Regions from separate parts of the Homo sapiens genome. Here regions 1, 2, 3 and 5 are each linked to region 4. Evidence: promoter capture Hi-C in 16 types of primary human blood cells and fetal thymus (Javierre and others, 2016). All regions are on one chromosome and are shown on one strand. The core of a region is centred on a gene start or on the middle of the fragment in contact, and the rest is flanking DNA. Distances in the headings are between cores, read along the strand shown.

The links. The method cuts DNA at HindIII sites, captures the fragments that hold promoters and counts their contacts. A CHiCAGO score of 5 or more calls a contact.
Region 1: a contact is called between a fragment that was not itself captured here and the fragment with the promoter of SPATA13-AS1 in region 4, in 5 of 17 cell types (endothelial precursors, fetal thymus, megakaryocytes and 2 more). The highest score is 7.9, in endothelial precursors.
Region 2: a contact is called between a fragment that was not itself captured here and the fragment with the promoter of SPATA13-AS1 in region 4, in 1 of 17 cell types (naive CD8 T cells). The highest score is 5.8, in naive CD8 T cells.
Region 3: a fragment that was not itself captured here is called in contact with the fragment with the promoter of SPATA13-AS1 in region 4 in 1 of 17 cell types (M2 macrophages); the score reaches 6.8 in M2 macrophages.
Region 5: a contact is called between a fragment that was not itself captured here and the fragment with the promoter of SPATA13-AS1 in region 4, in 5 of 17 cell types (endothelial precursors, M2 macrophages, M0 macrophages and 2 more). The highest score is 7.2, in endothelial precursors.

What each region holds. Positions count from the first base shown.
Region 1 is chr13:24,010,395-24,013,094 of GRCh38, forward strand. It overlaps a transcript of SPATA13 not described here. Among named protein-coding and RNA genes, the nearest start is that of C1QTNF9B, 110 kb to the left of the region's middle. The HindIII fragment of the contact is 3,516 bases long and covers 1-2,700 here.
Region 2 is chr13:24,506,864-24,509,563 of GRCh38, forward strand. All of the region lies in intron 1 of PARP4 (poly(ADP-ribose) polymerase family member 4), which reads right to left. All of the region lies in intron 1 of LOC105370117 (a long non-coding RNA gene), which reads left to right. Among named protein-coding and RNA genes, the nearest start is that of PARP4, 4.6 kb to the right of the region's middle. The HindIII fragment of the contact is 3,829 bases long and covers 1-2,700 here.
Region 3 is chr13:24,062,098-24,064,797 of GRCh38, forward strand. It overlaps a transcript of SPATA13 not described here. Among named protein-coding and RNA genes, the nearest start is that of SPATA13, 97 kb to the right of the region's middle. The HindIII fragment of the contact is 2,970 bases long and covers 1-2,700 here.
Region 4 is chr13:24,253,006-24,255,705 of GRCh38, forward strand. SPATA13-AS1 (SPATA13 antisense RNA 1) reads right to left here and starts at 1,434. Exons shown (of 3, transcript NR_046531.1): 1 at 1,331-1,434; 2 at 74-194. The region is part of intron 4 of SPATA13 (spermatogenesis associated 13); the gene reads left to right. The HindIII fragment of the contact is 5,552 bases long and covers 1-2,700 here.
Region 5 is chr13:24,027,548-24,030,247 of GRCh38, forward strand. It overlaps a transcript of SPATA13 not described here. Among named protein-coding and RNA genes, the nearest start is that of C1QTNF9B, 130 kb to the left of the region's middle. The HindIII fragment of the contact is 311 bases long and covers 1,187-1,497 here.

The DNA of each region.
Region 1 (2,700 bases), core at 122-2,621, 240 kb before region 4:
ATTGTTTTAGGGTAAAGATCTTGAGGAGTTTCCTTGTGGGCATATTGTGAGGGAGGTATGTAGCTTTTTTTTTTTTTTTTCATCTTTGTAGCTACGTTATTTAGGAATAGAATGGGAGGCAGGTTTGCCTAACCCCAGCTTGACTTTTCCCTTGGGCTTAGTGATTTCGGGGTCCCAAGATTTATTTTCCTTTCACAGTCCCTTGATCCCTCGTGCCTGGAAGCTCCTCCACCTGTGGCCTGAGTTGGATCTGCTTCTCCTCCCAGCAGTCTACTTCCTTCCTCCATCCTTTCTTCCTCCCATGAATCTTCCTCCCCACTCCTCCCTCCCTCCTGCTCCTCCATGGGGCAATTCACCCAAGGCCTGGATGGTGTCTTGGCAAGCAAGGCAGGGCCAGTGCCTTGTTGGTGGATCTGAGGGCCCTGGTGCATGGGACGTGCTGGTTGGCAAACCATTCCTAGAATCCACCCTGAGCACCTGGTTCTAGGAATGGTTTGCCATTCCAGCATGTCAAATGGTTGCTAAATGCTTTGCCCCACTGGTGACTGAGGTCCCAGGGGATGGAGACCCCTCGGATTGTCCTAGAGGAATGTTCCCTCTCTGCCTTACTGCTTTCTTCTGTCTTTCCCTCTGCACCCATACTGCTGGGATATGCCTGCACTCTGCAGTTTGCTGACTCCTCTGCAACCTTGGCTTTGGTTTCTCCCCAGGTCCTGACCACCTGGCCGTGGGCCCCTCCCTGTAGAGCCACACTGCAGGAAAACAAGGCTGCTTCAGCCCAGCGAGACCCATCTTGCCTGGGTGCCACCTCCCAGCCTGGATCAGCACTCGGAGCTCCCACCTGCCTCCCAGGGGAGTGGGCATCCACCCTGAGCACCTGGTTCTAGGAATTTCCCTTCCTTTCATTTCTGAGGCAGTGCCGGCCGGCTTGGCCATCTCATGCTGTCTCACGTTCCGCAGCTGGTCTGGGCCCAAGTGCTGAGGACTCAGGGATCCCTGAGACCGTTCTGGGCAGGTCTGGCTTGCTGCCCTCCCCTGGAGAATGTGGCGACCCAGCAGCAGGTGGTTGAGAGTGTCCCTGCTGGTGAGGACAGAACCTGGAATTCTGTTGCCACGCTCCCTGTCCTGGCTGGCTGATGCCCTCCAGCTGTGGGCTGGCCATGCTCCTGATGGGCCTGATATGGATACAGACTAGCATGTCCCATGCACCAGGACCCTCAGATCCACCAACAAGGCACTGGCCCTGTCTTGCTTTCTTCTCTTGGTGTGGCTGAAAACACCAGGCTCTAACTCTACTAGTTAAGCAGGAGCCTGGGAGTCTCCAACATCCTTCCTGGCAGGGGGCATGCAGAGAACATAGTCTTCAGCTCTGGCCAAGCAGCCATCTGTCCAGCCTGCTGGTGCTAGCCTGGGTAGATGGCCTGGAACTTAGGGGCAGAGCCCACCTGCACAGGCAAACTTGGGGGACCATGAGGGATGATCCCACAGACCCAGAATGCTCAGCCTTCTTCTTTAAACTTGCAGCGGAGGCTTCAATGTGCACCTCCGCCTCCCCCTACGGATTGTAAAACTCACAGGCACAGGGACCGGGGCTTGCCCACCACCCTAAACAAAACTTGCTGATGACTTACTGAGAAGATGAAGGCAGTGGTTTCTTGCAGCCATTGTGTCTGACCATGGGCCCCAGCAAGGATGTGAGGGACCTGTGTCACTGGCAAACACACTGTCAAGAAGCCAGGTGTGTAACCAGCCTATGATGAAAGCCTGCAGAGGTATCAGTCTCTTTCCTGGGGAATCTTTTCACCTGCGTCACAGCCAGACCCTCCATCACTGGTAGAAGGGTCTAGGGACTCCTCCAGAAGAGATAACTACTTTCTACTTAAGGACCAAAATACTTTTAGCCTCTGAGGCATAGGGCAGCTCACAGATGAAACTCTCTTCTATCTTGGTCAAGGTTGCCCCCAGGCAGGGGGACATCACCAGCAGATGCTCGTGGTTGGTCAGTATCTTGAGAAGTACACACCACCCAGGTACACCATTAGGGTGTCCTCTAGTACAACAGGACAGAGACAAAGGCTGTGCCTACTGTCTCCAAGGAGTGGGAGAGGACAAGCATATGGCAATTTTGATAGGCTTCTCACTTGGCCCTTCGAGTTGGCCATGTTGATCAAGTTCATGGTCTTCCCCTCTCAGGGGCTCCCCTGGTTGATCTTTTTCTGCCCTGACAAGCTCCTGGAGTCTGTTCCCTCCCCGTCTTCCGCAGCCAACCCCCAAGTGTGTGGTGGGCGGGGTGCAGGCTGCAAGCCTGTGATTACAGCACCTGCCTTGCTGGGAATGGCACGGGCATAGGAGCAGTCATGCCCACTGCAACAGTCAGTGTTGCCACAGCAATGCCCAGAACACCACCCTGAGCCCCGTGGCTGCAGACAGTGGCATCTGTTTGGTTTATGCGTCTGCAGGTCGGGGCTTTCACGGGCTTGGGCTGGGCTCCCTCCTGTGGCTGGCACTCCCCAGCTGTGGCTGGGGACAGGGCACACCTAGGCCACAACTCTCCCTCATCCAGCAGGCCAGCCCGACACCTTCTCACCGTGACGGCAGAGTGGGGAGCAAGCAAAGCCACACTGTGTGAGCTTTCCAAGGGCCCATTGTCACCCCTTTGCTAATACCCCACTGGCTGCAGCCCATGTGGCTGAGCCCAGA
Region 2 (2,700 bases), core at 178-2,677, 250 kb after region 4:
CGCTCCTGCGGGACGCTCGTGCTGCGCAGGAGCCAACTGAGGCGGGAGAGCTCAGACATGGCGGGCTGCAGGTCCCGAGCCCTGCCCCGCGGGGAGGCAGCTAAGGCTCCACGAGAAATCTAGCACAGCGCTGGTGGGCCGGCACTGCTGGGGTACCCGGCACACCCTCCGCTGCTGCTGGCCCGGACGCTAAGCCCCTCACTGTCCGGGGCCGGCGGGGCCAGCGGGCTGCTCAGAGTGCGGGGACCGCCCAGCCCACGCCCAACCGGAACTTGCGCTGGCCCGCAAGCGCCGCGCACAGCCCCGGTTCCGTCCTGCGCCTGCAAGCTGAAGGAGCCGGCTCCGGCCTCGCCAGCTCAGAAAGGGGCTCCCACAGTGCAGCGGCGGGCTGAAGGGCTCCTCAAGCGTAGCCAGAGTGGGCGCCGAGAGCCAGCGAGGGCTGCAAGGGCTGCCAGCACGCTGTCACCTTTCAGTACCTTTGCCCTGTGTGTGTTGGATGGTGGTACCCATTCCCTGGGCTCTCAATTGAGGACACAGTGCCACTGCCTCCCTGACACCTCACCTCTGGGTCTCCTTGGCACCACAGAGGTGCGACGTCCCCAGCCTAGGCCTCCCTCTCCCCCTTGGCTGGAGACAACCACTGGGTGCTATTCTTGACTCCCTGCACCCCCATCTCCTTCTGCCAGCTGTATCTCTTCCATCACAGCCCCTGATATAGCCCCAATGTATAGAACTTGTCCCTCCTGCTGCCACCCTGGCCCATGCCCTCGCATCCTGACTGGCTCCCACTCCTGTTGCGCCTGTGTTCAATCTCTTCTCCACACTGCAGCTTCAGGAAACTTGTTGTTTTTAAATTACATTTCAAATAAAATACAAATTGCTTATCATGGTTCAAGGCCAACAGCTATCTCATTCCCTCCTGGCCACACTGGCTTTTTCTAAAGGAGGAAGAAACCCACAGCTTGGTCCTCCAAGTCTTGACACATGCTGTTATATATTATAGTTCTTATCTCTGGGACCCCCAGCCCTTCCTCACCCCATGCTGTATCCCCCATCCAGGACACAATGAATGAACACATTAGGGATTCATATTTTTTAATCTTTCTTTTGAGGTCCGGTTAAACTGAAGTCTCTTGATGTAATTCTGCCTTTCCATAACATTAGCATGGAAAAGTTTCATTTGTTGACTGCCTCTCACATTCAATTAGCATCTGTGCATAGATAGGAGGGATGAAATGAGGGGTACCATAAAAGAGATTACACCACACTATTTAGGTTAATCTATGCTAGTCGTAATCTCTGACAATTAAAAACAACACACAAAAAAAAACACTAAAAGCCTTTAATGACTCTTTAATAATTTCCAGGACAGCCTCTATGTGATAATTGCACCCCCACTTATGCTGACCAAGGTTGGCTGACATGGAGTGGCTGCTCAAGTCCACCTTCAGATGGGTCCTGGATGTGTTAAATCCTCTGACCTGTTTAAAACGTGTTTCCTGGAAAAGTGACTCATGGTCACTGTTGAAAATTTGAAAAATACAGAATTGTATAACAGAAAAAAAAAGAACAAAACAAAAAAATCTCAAAACCTAGGGCTATGTTAGCATCTTGTTTTGCATTTTTCTTCTGGGCTTTTTTCTAGGTCTATTATAACACTTTGTTTTTTGAGACAGTCTCGCTTTTGTCACTTAGGCGGAAGTGCAGTGGTGAGACCTCGGCTCACGGCACCCTCCGCCTCCCGGGTTCAAACGATTCTCCTGCATCAGCCTCCCGAGTAGCTGGGATTATAGGTGCCTGCCACCATGCCTGGCTACTTTTTGTATTTTTAGTAGAGACGGGGTTTCACCATGTTGGCCAGGCTGGTCTCGAACTCCCAACCTTAAGTGATCTGCACACCTTGGCCTCCCTAAGTGCTGGGATTACAGGCATGAGTCACCGCACCCAGCCACAGACTGTATTTTTTATCAAAATTGACATCACACTACCTATCCCGCTGTTATCAGTCAGCATCTTTAGCATTTTGTCATTAAATATTATTGGAAAACATTTTTAATAGAGACTATCAGATATGGACCATAAATGAATTATTGTTGGAAAATTAAATCATTTCTGATTTTTGGTATCATAAAAAGCTATGATGAACATCCTTATGTGCAAATCCTTGTTTCCATCTCCAACAATCATCTTAGAAAATAATACTCAACTAGAACTACTGAATCAAAGTTTGAACAATTTTTTTGTGTTAAAAGTTAATCACTAAGAAGAAAAAATAAAAAGCACCTAAAATGATGGAAATGCTCAAAACTAGACTGCAGTGATGGTGCACAACTTGGTAAATTATTAAAAATTATTGAATTAGGCCAGGCAATGTGGCTCATGCCTGTAACCCTAGCACTTTGGGAGACCAAGTGGAGCAAATCGCTTGAGCCCAGGAGTTTGAGAGCAGCCTGGCCAACATGGCGAAACTTCATCTCTACAAAAAATACAAAACTTAGCTGGGCAAGGTGGTACATGCCTATGGTCCCAGCTACTCAGGAGACTTAGGTGGGAGGATCACTTGAGCCTGGGAGGTCAAGGCTGCAGTGAGCTGTGATCATGCCACTGCACTCCAGCCTGGGTGACAAGAGACCCTATCTCAAAAAAAAAAAAAGAGAGAAAAATTACTAAATTGTACAATTAAAATGAATGAATTTAATG
Region 3 (2,700 bases), core at 113-2,612, 190 kb before region 4:
GGGGGTATCTTGAGGAACACACTCAGTTGCCTGTGTGAATTCTAACAGGTCTGTTTGCATCTCAGATGCTCTACTGTGACCTCTGGTACAGTGTGGCTGTTTACTAGTGATGCTATTCCGGGAAGAGCTCTAGGGCTTCTTAGCCCCATGTTAACTTCTCATGGTTCAAAGTGCTGTTGGCGGAGCACAATGCAAAATCCTGTGGATATGGGTGAGGCTGTCATCTTTGGAGGAAGGACTAAAGGGCTGGGGGCAGGAGGCCAGGGACTGACTGGGGGCTGATCAGGACGAAGAGAGCTGAGGGCACACAGTCAGGATGAAATTCTTCTCCAATGGCGCCAGGGTGCACGGTGCTGGGAGCCAAGGGGCTCTGCCTTCCCACCAGCCCTGCCGCTCCAGGGCTCTGTGAACCTGGGTCACCTCACCTCCATGGAGCCACACTTCTTATTTGCAAAACAGAGGGTGGGGATCCGGTGACGAAGGAGCCTCCATCCAGTTCTAATTTTCCGTTTTCTTATAGAAGTCGGGCTTCGGTGTGTCTGGAACTGTGTAAGGAAGACCCAGTGAAGTATCCTCATGACTGCACCTGAGCTGTACTGAATAAGGGGTTGTGTGTGTGTATGTGTGTTTGTGTGTGTGTATGTGCACCGTGTCTGCATGTGTCCACATGCATTTGTTATCTTCCATCCTTCATAGCCCTTCTTGAAGATTGAGAGAAGTATCGGGATTTCCAAACTTCAATTTGGAGTGGGTTTTGCCAGGAAATTACTTTGGAAACTGTTGCAAACTGCATGCTTGTGGATGGCATTCTGTGGTCATGATCCTGCCATCTGACAGTGCCAGGGCCTCCAAGTTCGCACAGCCAAAGTGCCCCTGGGGGTTTGTGGGGGAGACTCAGGACAAGGGACACACTTCCCAGCACCTCCTCAGAGGTTCCCTGCTCAGATGTACTCCCTGGGATTGGCCTCGGGGTCACCTGCCTGAGACCCAGCCCTGCCCTCTGTCCTCAGCCAGCCTGGACCAGGCTCCTTCTCCCAGTGCTCACCATGCACTGGCCCCAGGTCTGCCCCACGTGAGGGTGAGCTCCACAGCCAGAACCTGGTTTTATTCGCGTCTGCCTCCTCCTTGCCAAACCACCATGGGCACAAAGAGAGCACTCACTAGGGATTCATAGGAGGAGTGAAGGATATCTGATTTTTTAATTGACAAATAAAAATTGTATGTGTTTATCATGTACAGCAGGTTTTGAAATTTGTACACATTGTGGGATGGCTAAATCGAGCTACTTAACATACATATTCCTTCCTGTACTTATTGAGTTATCACAGTGCTTGATCTGTGTAAGCGCCTCTGGACTCTGACTGCCATCCTCTCCCCTGGCCCACATCCCTCGGTGGCCTTTCCTCCCAAACATGCCTGCCAGATTCTCCAGAACCCTCCCTGCAGGAAACCAAACTCCCCCACATCATCACTAAATGTTCCTCCATGTCCTTGCTGAACTGAACCCTGGCTGCCATCCAATTACACAGCTTCCCTGAGCCCACTCAAGTGGGGGCGGCTCCTTCTCCCACATCCTCTTCAGCTCAGGGTCAGGAGGAGGGGGCAGCCTTCTCGTTGCTGATGTTTCACCCTTTATAAAACAAAATCAAAGAAAACAAAACAGAAACCTGCTCTCTACGGCACATGTCATCCAGCTTTCTTCTCTTAGTCGCTGTCCTGAATTTGTGTCGTTTCCTGCCTCACTCACAGGGATGAGGGCACTCCACTCACCATCCCAGCATTATTCCAGGAGACCCCAGAGATGACTTCCTTAATGACCTGAGGTCTTCGTTCCCTGCCTGCCTCCTTTCTGAGGGGCTGCTTCTTCACTGTGTGGCCTCACCGCCTCCAGTGGGTGCCTCTGGAGCAAACGTGCCCTGGATCTGCTCCATCTCTGCCATCTTCTTCAAGTCAGCCATTTCTCTCTTTGACCATGCCTGCCTACCCTTCCAGCACTTTCTCTTGTCAGTGTTCACTGCACCTGTTCTCCTGCCTCATCAGGCCACTCCAGATTATTTTCCCTGTGAATGGACCAGCCTGTCACAGATCACTTAATGCGTTCTAAAGCTCACAGTACGTCAGTGTAACAACAGACAACAAAGCTACTAGAATGGCTACAGTCTCCGTTTCGTCAAGCCCACATTTTATGAGTTAGTGACTAGACCACATTCAGATTACATTTAAATGAAGTACAATTAAATCAATGGGAGAGCAGTAACCTCACAGTGGAGAAACCTGGCTGCAATGGACTAAATGTTTTTGTCTCCCTGAAGTTTATATGTTGAAATCCTAACCCCTAGTAAGAGGCTGTTAGGAGGTGAGGCGCTTGGGAGGTCATTGGGTCATGAGGGTAGGGCCCTCATGAATGGGATTTGTGTTTTTATAAAAGAGCCCCCAGAGAACTCCCACGCCCTTATTGCCATGTGAGAACATAGCAAGAAGACAGACATCTACAAACCAGGAAGTAGGCCCTCACCAGACACTGAATCTTCTGGTACTTTGACCTTGGATTTGCCAGCTTGCAGAATTGTGAAAGACAAATTTCTGTTGGCTCTAAGCTACCCAGTCTATGGTACTTTGTTACAGCAGCCAAACTAAAATGCTGCTGGGTGCCTTCTTAATCAGCGATGAAGGTCAATACCACCACTGATGTCATGAGCA
Region 4 (2,700 bases), core at 184-2,683:
ATACTTATTTGGGGAGGAGTTATAATAAGGAGTTAACTTATTAGGAGTTAGTGACTGTCTTTCTGTCACTCACCCAGGGGTTCAGGTCCCAGGATGGAAGATTCAGCTGTCCGAGCTTAGGTGATATGTCCACCACCTGGTGGTACTGGAACAGGAAGAAGGGTGGGGTGTCTGTCTCCAGGGACCCTTGCCTTCTATATGTGAAGACAGGCCAAGTAAGTATTTAACAGAGCAGACAGTACTATAAAGAAAAATAAAACAGGATAGAGAGCATTCATTTCCAAAGAGTGTTATTCTAATGACACTCTAATGAACAGGATGCACCTGTTCCATGAACCCTCTCTCTCTTCCCTAGAAGGAGACACCCAGATCCTCATCAGTGGCAGCAGACACCTCCAAGTCTAGGACCTCTTAGGATAACTAGTCCTCCAGTTCCATGCAGTGCCTCTTCAGCGTTGATTAACTAGAGGCAGATTTAAGCAACACATCCCTACCAGAATGGCAAGGCAGGGAAAGGAAGGAAATAGAGAATTTGGGATGCTGTGGAGAATAAAACGTCATGCAAAGTTTACATTTCAGCATTTGAACAGATTCCATAAGTCAATATGTAGGATGCACCAAGGCACCAGTGACGGCCCTGCAGAAGATGACTTTGGGTAATGTGAGGAGTAGGAGCAGGTGGGGGAGATAGCCTCCTCTCCAAGGAGGTGACGCTGGGGACAGGTGAGTAGGAGGCAGTGAGGCAGAGATCCGAGGGAGGAGAAGTCCTAGCCGAAGGAGCACCAGAAGCCCAAAGACAGGCAGGAAACATGATGTGTCTGAGGTTCAGCAAGGAGGCCACAGTGACAGGAGCTCAGGGAGCAAGAGGCAGACGAGGATGTTGCAGGCTGGGAGGTGGGCTGAGGCTGGAAAGGGCTCTGCAGGTCATGAGGAGGCTGAGCTTGTTCTAAGTGTGGTGTGAAGCCATTGGCAGCAGGAGCATATTATGTTCCGGTTTATGCTTAGAGAGGGAGGGCAGTTTGTGGGGGGAAAGGAAGAGGAATGGAGATTGATTTGAAGGCGATTGCATTAGTCCATTTGAGAAATATGGTAGCAGTGACCACAAAAGCCATCCCCATTTTCCGTGGGTGCTCATTTTCCCAGTGGTACGAAGAGGCAAAAATGGCCAGCCTTGGTTCTGATTCACTGTGGCCAGGACTGTGAACTCTGGAGGAAGTACTTCTCCCTTGGGCACTAAATTCAGTTTCAACAGAGCAGAGTTCCTAGGTGGGAAGAAAACATTTTGCAAGTATATTATTAAGTAATCCTAAGAAGCCGCTTCTATGTTTACCCTTGGTTTCCGGCCCTGCATCTTCTGCTGTGGGCCAGCCTCTCCAAATTAGTCACTGCTTCAGAGCTTGCGTCCCATCCAGGGCAGTATGGCAACTTCTGGGTGTGTCTCCCAGCTGCCTCTGTAACTTCATTTTTATTTGGTTGTTATTGGGTGTGATGGGGTCATGTGCTTCCTTCTCTGTGACGTTCTGGGCCTGGATGGCGTGTGAGATGCTGCGACAGGATAGGGGCCTTCTAGAGGATCCACAGAGTGCAGGAAAACAAATCCAAGCCCAGCATAAGTGGCCCTTCCAGTAGGGACAAATCACCACCCCCTCTATTATGAAAAGGCCCCACTGCAATCAGCTTTCCGCAAGGGGCTGTCTGGTTCCTGCGGGGAACCGTATCATCAGCTTTGTTGAGGGGAAGGCCCAGACTTCCTGTGGTTTAGCCCAGGCTTGGCATCCATTTTTGCCACCATGGCCTTTTTCTTGCTTGCTTCTTTTTTTTTTTCCTTTTTATGAACCCACTGAGCAAGTATCAAGATGACTAGGAAGGAAGACTGGCATCTAGCTGCACATTGGGACAGCATGTCCACATGATGATTGATTAGCCTCTCTTGCAATAAGGATTCATGTAGGATGGACATCATCTCATGCTCTGCGGGTATTCTGAGGTAGCCAGTTATACTCCTTCCCCAAACCCATCCTCAGCCCATCTTGTTCTTTCCACATTCCTCCAGGCCATTCAGCCAGGCCATTAGCTCCTAACCAGGAGTGCGCACGAGCTAAATCCTTGCCTTGCCAAAGCCATCTCTCCTACTCAGAAAGGCTTGGGAAGAGTATTGCTTACATTTGCCGCCGGGAGTTTCCCTGTCCTGAGGACACAGTCACCAGGCTGATGGTAGGAGTTCTCTTTGAGAAGCTAGGAAGAAGACTTGTAGTAGGATGCCTACCCTGAGGCTCCCTGGCTCTGCTCCATCAAGAGGCCTGAGTCTGGGAGTTGAGTGAGGGCCCTCCCTTGTCTTCTCTGTCATGGTGGCTCAGGTCGGGCTCTGCTTGCCAGCCCTGGAGAGTTCCTCCTACACAATGTTGTGGTACCTTTGTGGAATCACTCATCTGTTTTGTTCCTGGGGACCCCGAGATCAGTTAACAGCACAACCAGAGATTTCACAGGTCAAACCATTCAGATGACCAAGCTGGCCCTGCTGTGTGGTATAGTAACTATGCCCACCTTTTTCCCATGACAGATGTCCCACCCCCATGGAGGACCAGGTTTGCATTGCAGTGGAACCATCTCTCAGCAGCATCTCTGGCCTAGAGAGATTAGCAGTACATTAATTATAAAAGCTGCTGTCACATGGGAGATGCAGCCCAAGGGGTGGTGAGA
Region 5 (2,700 bases), core at 92-2,591, 230 kb before region 4:
GATTTTAGCTCTTTATTATTTCCTTTCTTCTACATTCTTGGGTTTTTTGAGTTGCTGTTTTTTATCTTTATGTATTAGTTCTTAGTTCATTAATGTTCAGTTCTTCTTTTCTAGTATAAGCAAATAAGCCTCTTTTCTGGCTGTGTGACCTTGGTCAGGTAACTTAACTTCTCTGTGCCTTAGTTTCATATACTCGAAATTGGGTAACACCAGTATCATAGCATAGTTGTGAAAACCGAGGAAATTAGTATATGCACGGATCTTAGAAGAACACGTGGTGTAGATTAAACCCTTCAGGAGTGCCCTTCCTGCCTGCTTGTTCCTCTTCCACCCCTTTATGCTCTTTACTCTTCCTCAGCTCTGCTCCAGCATCTGCTTAAACATCATTAGCCATGTAACACCAGAAAAACTGTGATGAAATTGTTTTTGTTATAATTCTGTTTTAGTAGTTTTTAATTTCTATTATATTTTTCTTTGATTCATAAATTTAGATGTTTTTATAATTTTTAATTTCCAAACATATAGCCATAAGCAAACTCTTCTCTAACATGGAGTCAGGACTGTTAAAATTTATGGGCTAATACACTTAATCTTTTTTAAATCCACAAGTTACCCTATTATTATTATCTTCTACTTAGGCTTGTTCAGATACACACACATACTTACCATTTTCTTTGCTCATCATTCCTTTTTGCATTTGAGCTAATTTATTTTCTTCCATAGTACACTCTTCCAAAAGTCTTTTAGAGAGGATATCTTGTTGGTATACTGCTCCCAACTTATCTGAATGTATCAGTTCATGTGCAGGTGTCTATATTTTGCCATCATTCTTGAAACAGTTTTGCTGGGTACATAATTCTGGGTTGGTTGTTAGTTTCTCCTAGTACTTTACAGATAATATTCTCCTGACTCCCTTGGTTGCAGTTGTGATGTCAGCTGGTGTCTAATTAAATACAAGGTCCTATCTTTTCTCTTTGGTTGCTTTGAAATCTTTTTTTGACTTTGGCATTCTTCAGTTTTTTAGTGATGTGTCTAGGAGAGATCTGGCATTATATTCTTTATGCTTCCTAATTCTGAACATTGATAACTACTATCAGTTTTGGAAAATTCTAATTGCCTCTCTTTTATTCACCTTACTATCTTTGTATAGAATTCCAATTGAATGTTTGTCCGTTCTTACGCTTCAAGCTTTTACTCACATCTTTCTGTCACTTTCTTTACTCAACTGTGTGTAATCTGCTATTTAACTGTTGCTTTGAGTTTTTCATTTCAATAATTATATTTCTCTATTTTAAAGATTTGTGTTTTTTATGTTTCTGGTCATTTCTAAAAATATCCTTGCTCATGGCTTCAATTTCCCCTGTTTTTTTAAACATGAAAATGTTTTATAATCTACATCTAATAATTTTACTTCCTAAAGTCCTGGTGAGCCTGGGCCAGTATTTTTTTCTTTCTGCTCTCTTTTGTTTCCTCGTATGTGGTTTTTTTGTTGTTATAAGCTTATATTTATTCAAAACCTTTATTTTTAATTATCGAATTTATTTTTAATAGTTTTTGTTAGTAACGGGGTCTCACTGTGTTGTCCAAGCTGAACTTAAACTCCTGGGCTCAAGTGATCCTGTCACCTAGCCTCCCAAGTAGCTGGAACTTACAGGCATGTGCCAACACAGCCGGCCTCTGAAAATCTTTTCGTGGGAATACTTTAAAGTCTGGGGCAAAGATGCATCTTTTACAGAAATAATTTTTGTTTGCTTTTACCAGATGCGTCAGGACAGTACAAATTTGGATCTATTTAATATAAACATTTTAGCTTACATTTTTTTAGACAAATAGTGTGAAATCAAGACCCAAATCCATGTTAGGGCTGGCTGATAGCCACAGATTCTCAGGAGTAGGGTTGCCATAAAAAATACAGAATGTTCAGTTAAATTTGAATTTCAATTAAACAATAAAAAAATTTTGTATGTTATTTACATAAAATTCAAATAAACTGGGGACCCTGTATTTTTAAATATATATTAACATATAGACTGTTCTGTAGAGCATTTTTGGAATCACAGCAAATTTTTTAAATTTAGATTTTGATATTTTAATTTCAGGGGTACAAGTGCAGCTTTGTTAAATACACACACTTGTGTCATGGGGGTTTGTTGTACAGATTATTTCATCACCCAGGTATTAAAGCCTGGTACCCATTAGTTAATTTTTTGAGTCCTCTCCCTCCTCCCACCCTCCACCCTCCGATAGGCCCCAGTGTGTGTTGTTCCCCTCTAGGTGTCTATATGTTCTCATCATTTAGCTCTCACTTATAAGTGAGAACATGCGGTATTTGGTTATCTCTTCCTAAGTTAGTTTGCTAAGGATAATGGCCTCCAGCTCCATCCATGTTCATGCAAAGGACATGATCTAATTCTTTTTTACGGCTGCATAGTATTCCATGGGAATTCATAGCAAAATTGAGTGGAAAGTAGAGTTCTCATATATGCCCTACCTTCTCCTAACACACACACACACACACGCACACACACACACACACACACACATACATACATACATACATATACCCTCCCCTATCATCCACATCCCCCACAGCGTGGTGCATTTGTTAGAGCTGATGAACCAACACTGACACATCATTGTCACCCAGAGTCCCTAGTTGACATTAGGGTTCACACTTGGTGTTGTACATTCACTGGTGTT